Regions from separate parts of the Homo sapiens genome. Here region 2 is linked to region 1. The links are contacts of gene promoters, found by promoter capture Hi-C in human tissues and cell types (Jung and others, 2019). All regions are on one chromosome and are shown on one strand. Each heading gives the region's core, a stretch centred on a gene start or on the middle of the fragment in contact. The rest is flanking DNA. Distances are from core to core; before and after follow the strand shown. Region 1 holds the start of CHRDL2 (chordin like 2). Region 2 has its middle 33 kb from the start of POLD3.

Region 1 (3,359 bases), core at 336-2,835:
GCATGGGGAGGGGGGACCACCAGCCTATTGTGGGCGCAGTGAGGAAACTGAGGCTCAGATTGATGATGTAACCTGTTTGATGTTACACTGTATCTATGTGGAAAAGCATAATTGGGAACTGATTTTTTTTGGAAGCTATCAAGCACCAGTCTTGTGCTAGCTGCTTTACCTCTTTTCTCTAATTTAATCCTATCAACTCTCCTAGGATTTTTACTTCCGCTTTATAGATTAGGAAACCCAGGGTCAGAGAGGTGCACTCTGTGACGGCCTCCCAGCAGCTGGCATTCAGCGGGGCTGGGATGGTGAAGACGCTGGTCTATCTCACTGTGCCCTGCCGCCTCCCAGAGTCTCACACTGCAAATTCAGGGTTCCTTCTAGACAATGTGAGGCAGGGAATAAAGCATGGGATCTGGAACTAGAGTTCTGGCTTTGGATGGCTTACCCGCTCTGTAAGTTTTAGCAAGTTCCTCCTTGCTCAGCCTAAGTTTTCTCATCTGTAAAGTGCGAATGATAATACCCACCTCACTGGAGAGTTGCGAGGATCAAAAGAGAGAAAAGAATGGGAAGGTTATCCTAATTACCTCTCATTTCTGTCCAATGGCTCTTTCCAAAGGCAAAAAGCCTTTTCTTCTCCATCACACTCCTTACCTGTAGCCAGACATACCCGACTCCCTCCTAGGAACAGTAAGTCCTCCCCCAACCCAAAACACAGTGCCCTGCCCTCTCCCCCCGCTGCCCTTGGTGCCCCTCCTCAGGTCCCTGGCAGCAGCCCTCTCTCAGTTCTGAGTTGTGCCGAGTTCCTCCGGTCCCCCGGCCCATACTGGTCCTCACGGAGTCTCCACCCCTCCGGCACAGGTGCTGCCTGGACGGCTGTCAGAAGAGCTTGGGGTCCAGGTCCTGGCGCTGTCCCTCACATTCCAGGGGCCGCATCCCTCCTCTGCCCACCCAGCCTCCCGGTCTACTTACGGGCTCGAGCGTGGGAGTCCAGGGGGAACCAGAGCAGCGCGAGTCCCAGCAAGGAGGAGAGGACCCTCACCTCGGGAACCATCCTTTCCCCAGGGTCAGGCCGCTGGTCCGGGAGCGGAGTCGGGAGGAAGGGAGACGAAAAGGACACGGAGGCACAGGGGCCACAGATCAACCCACAGACCCCAGGAGGTCTGCTGCTAGAGCGGGGTCGGAGAAGGGCCAGGAAGCAGCGGTGGGCAGGAAAGGAGGGCAGGAAGGGAGGTCTAAGGTGGGAAGAAGAGAAAGGTGGAAAGAGAACGCGGGGAAAGGAGGGAGAGATGGAGAGACGAAGGAAGGTCCAGCAGAAGGGAGAGGCGATCAAAGAAAGGGGGAAGGTGAGAGGGAGAGGAGGAGAAAGCAGGGAGAGGACCGGCGTCTGCCGAGCGCGCAGCGCCGGGCGAGGCGCGCGGGACCAGCGGGTGTTGCGGGCGCGCGGGCTAGAGGCGGCCGGCGCCCCCTGCTCGGTGGGCTCGGGGTCGGGCCGCGGGGGCCTGGGGCCCGGCGGGGCGGCGGTCCCAGCAGCGGCGGCGGCGCGGCGGCCGCGGAGGGAGGCTGAGCGCGGGCCGGCTGTGCTCGCCAAGGGCTTCAGGCGCCGCGCTCGGGCGCATTTGTACTTTGCCGCGGGAAGCAGGCAGCCCGGCCTGGCGCTGGCCTAGCGCTGGCGCCTCCTCTGGGGCACCGCGGGCTCGGTGGATTGGCCACCCGAGAAACAGGCCCACTTTTTCCCCTCCTCTCTTGTGCGGGTCTCCGGGACGGACGCTCCAGGCGCGGCGCCGAGTGGAGGCGAGGGGGCTGCGGAGGGGGAAGGGGCCACGCGGGCCACGGGGTTTAACCCCTGACTCCCCGCGACGCCAAGAATGCAGGAGGGCAGAGTTGAGGGAGACCTCAGGTGGAACTTTCAGGTGGGGAAGGCTGAGCTGTCGGGGCTGCGGGTACCGGGAAGGCTCAGGGTAAGGCGCTCGGCGGTGCGTGCCCGGAACTCCGCAGATGGATGGAATCAGAACACTGGCGTTCTTAATTCAGTTTGTGGTCTACAGCACGCCACCGGAGAGTCTGTTTTCCCAGCTTTAAAATGGGCATTTTAAGATCTTAAAATATCTCTACTATCTTCCCACGAGTGTTGCTAAGATGAAATAAGGTAATGAACGTCGAAACACTCACCCCACAAAGAGAAGGGGTCCTAATTCCAGGTGCCTACAATACCAGTGGCCCCTGTCCCCACTCCGTCTGCCCATGCGCCATTCTCAGGAAAGTCAGCCCATAGGGATCCTGTGCCTTCCCCTGGAGGTCTTCCTCTGCTCCCCGCTCCCACTCCCGAATCAAGGCAAGATCTCTCCTTTGCCTTTGCAGGTGAGGCCTGCACTTCTCTGGGAGTGATGGTCACCTTCAGTCATCTTTAGGGAGAGCTGATTGTCAAAGAGTTTTCTTTCCCACCAGAAGGGGAGCTCCCTGAGGACAGGGCCCTGACACCCTCCAGCCCTCAAATGGTGCTCCATCTCTTGTGTTGAATGAACACATGCACTAATAGGACACTAAGAAGAGAATAGCCAGCTCTGGCCAGACCAGAAACACACAAGCTCTGAAATCAAAAGGGCAGAGTCACTGTCCTGGCTCCATCCGTAACTTGTTGGGCCACTTTGAGTAAATACATCTATCCTTGCTTTGGACCTCAACTTTCTGCCCAGCTTCTCTTGAAGAGCTAATGGAGACTCCAAAGAGTGCCAGAGGAGTATGAGGTGGGAAGGGATGTTGAGCCATATCCCACTCTGGTAGGGAATCATATTTCCGGGTTTAAACACTTGGCTGGCTGGCTGTAAAGGTATCTTTCTGGGCCAAGGCTGGGCTCCCCATTGCACTGTGCTTTCAGGGTATTACCCCCAAGATCTCCACCCTCCAAAAGAGAGCAGTAGGAGGAACCAGTGATCCCCAAACTGGCCCTTCCTAGGGCTCTCAGGATCAGGGACAAACATGATCTGTCCAGTGCCCTTCAGGCTTAATTTCTACTCTAATCTGGCCAGTCTCTTCCTTTCCCCTGAGTATTCTTTATTTTAACAGATAGTGCAAGCTTATGCATGTCACCATGCTTCCCTTTTTGCCTTTGCTTCCAGGGATCTCAGAGTTAAATCCTGTGCTGCTTAATTGCATAAACAATCTCATCCCAAGGGTTTGGGACAGTGATCTTTTCCTTTCTCTTTGTTTAAAATGTGCTGTGCACATATATTCATGTCTTAGATGTAAGAAGTGGATTAAGATGGGTTCCCCTACATCCTGCCCATCATACTTCAAAAAAGGCCTCCACCATCTCAGCCCTCCTGTCCATCCCTATTATCCCCAGAGTTGAGGCCAACTTCATT
Region 2 (2,951 bases), core at 254-2,753, 170 kb before region 1:
GCCTATAGGAGCTGAGAGTGGTCCCCGGCTGATAACCAGCAGGACAATGGTGACCTCAGTCCTACAACCATAAGGAACTGCATTCTGCCAATAACCAGTGAGCCTGAAGGAGAACCCTGAGCCCTATACATGACCAGCACTTTCAGTCCAGCCTGCTGAGATCCTGAGCAGAGAATTGAGTCATGCCCTACGTCGACTTCTGGTATACAGAAGCAGAAATAATAAATTTGTAATAAGTGGCTAAGTTTGTGATAATTGTTTATGCATCAGTATAAAATTGTTTATTATCAATACAAAAATAATATAAATTTTATAATATATATTTTTAAGGAAAAAATACAAAATTACAAATACAAAATCTGTGAGACTAAAGAGGTCTGTAAGTGAGGAACCCTGAAATTTAAGCTTCATTAGTTTCAAGGTAAGTCTGTCTCTGCCTCCAAGAAGGAGAGAAGATGAAGGAAAAAGAGTGTCAACTACAATACGATGTTGCTGTTTTGGGCAGGACAAATGCCCAAAACCAATTCTATCTCTTTGAAAGGCTTTAGGGGAACCTTTAAGGGATCCTCCCTTGGAGCCCCCAACTATACTTCCCTTGAGAAGCAAAGCTTCTCCTCTGGCTTGGCTCCTGAACTTTAGCAGTCCATCTTCTCTGTTGGGGTCCCAGTGCCCTCAGTGCAATTCTTTTGAGGACAGACCTGTTTTAGGAAGATCCTAGGTCAGATCCCTTCTTCCAGGTCTACCTCAGTTCCTAGGAAAAACCTGCTTTTGCCCCATGGCCAGTGGGAGAAGGGTTTGCTCTCAGCCCAACCATCTCTCTCTAGTCCTACAAATTCCATTCAGTCTCTAATATTTAAATTCCTCAAGAATATGTCAAACTCCATATCTTATGATTCCCAAACTTCAGTGCAACATGTCAAGCTCTCTGAGTGGTTTTCTTGAAGTCCCCAGTTTCCTTTGGCTTAAGGAAGGAGGAGAATATGGCTCCCCTCCCCTGTGTACCGATTGTCACCCAGTTATTAACAGAAAGAATAGGGATTCAGGAACCCTGAGCTCTAGTCTGGGTTCTGATACTAACTCACTGTGTGTCCTTGGGAAATGTCCTTTTCCATTTCGGGCCTTGCTTTCCTGACAGCTCACTTAAATGAAAATGTAGGACTAGATCCACTCATTTATTCAGTAAATGTTTATAGAGTCCCTATTACGTGTCAGGAACTGTCTGGGTATGAGGAATCATCAGAAAACAAACTAGCTGACTTCTCAGGCCCTACCAGCCCTCACATTCTCTGATGCTTCTCCCCCACCTAGTTCCCACTCACCCCTCAACAATGAGTGGTCAAGTTCTGGCTGCGATCATGACTGCTTTTCCACCTCAGCAGTGTATAGCCTCTTCTTGCAGGGATATTTATTTATTTATTTATTTATTTCTGACAGGGTCCTGCTCTGTTGGGTGCAGTAATGCGATCAGGGCTCACTACAACCTGGACCTCCTGGGCTCAAGTGATCCTCCTGCTTCAGCCTCCCAAAGTGCTGAGATTATAGGTGTGAGCCGCCATGCCCAGCCCACAGGGACCTTTGATGGGACTAGGGGTAAGCTTCCTTTGAAGGCAGCATTGCTGTTTTGGTTACTGCCCATCAACCTGGGCTGTCTGGCCTGGAAGTACTGCCTGGCCAACGACAATGGAAAGGTTTATTTGCAGAGGCCAGGAAGTCCCCATGACCCCTCTCCATTCACCTCTGAGACAGGAAGCCCCAGGAGGAAAAAACAAAAGATGAAATGCTGGCTGACTTCCCAGCTTCCAAGTGCTCAGCCGCACTCTGGACTGGAGGATCCCTTCTGCCCAGTGGACAGGGACCTCTTTCAGCAGCTCCTTCCTTGTCATTGATCCCCAGGGCTTCAGTTCCTGTCCTGAGGATCCAGAAGGACTTAGGTGACGTAAAAGAGGTATGAAATGAAGATTGAGTCTCTGGGAAAGGATGCATGATGTCTTATCCTAAGCTAAGCCTCCATGTCTGGGAAGTGGGGGGAGGCTGAATGCACAGAGTGGGAAAAATATTCTCAGTGGTTAAGGAAGCAAGTGACTCACCTGCTCTGACCTTCATCCATCCACTCCCATGGCCAGAGTGACTTCAGGGAGGAGGTGGGGTGGAAGAGATTTCCAAGTCTCGTTTTTTTTTTCTTGAGTTTTTTAAGACCTCTTACTTATGATGCCCCTTCCATCCATCACACTTCTCCCAACAGCTTAGCTAACCTGCCTGGAAAAAACAGTCATCAAAAAGCACACAGCATGCTAAGTAGAAAATGAAAAAGCAGGAGGTGCCTCCACTCTTCCAGCAGCTTTTCCACTGGGTTCTGTGCCTAAGGAGTTGCTCCCTCCAGTCCGCAGAGTAGCTGGAATGCATTTTCAAAATTCAACTTTAAAAACTGAAGTGGTCGGGCGCGGTGGCTCACACCTGTAATCCCAGCACTTTGGGAGCTGAGGTGGGTGGATCATCTGAGGAGCTCAAGACCAGCCTGGCCAACATGGTGAAACCCCGTCTCTACAAAAAATACAAAAATTAGCCGGGCGTGGTGGCAAGCACCTATAATCCTAGCTACTCGGGAGGCTGAAGCAGGAGAATCGCTTGAACCCGGGAGGCGGAGTTTGCAGTGAGCTGAGATTGCGCGACTGCACTCCACCCTGGGCAACAAGAGCGAAATTCCATCTCAAAACAAAAAACAAAATCAAAAACAAAACTGAAGTATAACATTCATAGAAAAGTACATAAATCATACGTGTACAGTTCAATAAATTTTGAGAAAGTGCACCTCCATGTAACCAACACTCAGGAGGAGAAATAGAACATGACCAGCAGCTCAGAAGCTCCTTTGTGCCTCCTTCCAGCCACTTCACCCTGCAAAGCTAAATGCTGTCCTGAATTCTAACGTCAAAAATTAGATTTGCCTGTTT

The links. The method cuts DNA at HindIII sites, captures the fragments that hold promoters and counts their contacts. A contact is called where the count stands out against the background at its distance.
Region 2: a fragment that was not itself captured here is called in contact with the fragment with the promoter of CHRDL2 in region 1 in 2 of the 25 tissues and cell types used here (heart left ventricle and thymus).

What each region holds. Positions count from the first base shown.
Region 1 is chr11:74,729,841-74,733,199 of GRCh38, forward strand. CHRDL2 (chordin like 2) reads right to left here and starts at 1,586. Exons shown (of 11, transcript NM_001278473.3): 1 at 967-1,586. The coding sequence starts at 1,048. The HindIII fragment of the contact is 7,141 bases long and covers 1-3,359 here.
Region 2 is chr11:74,558,045-74,560,995 of GRCh38, forward strand. No RefSeq gene overlaps it. Among named protein-coding and RNA genes, the nearest start is that of POLD3, 33 kb to the right of the region's middle. The HindIII fragment of the contact is 3,664 bases long and covers 1-2,951 here.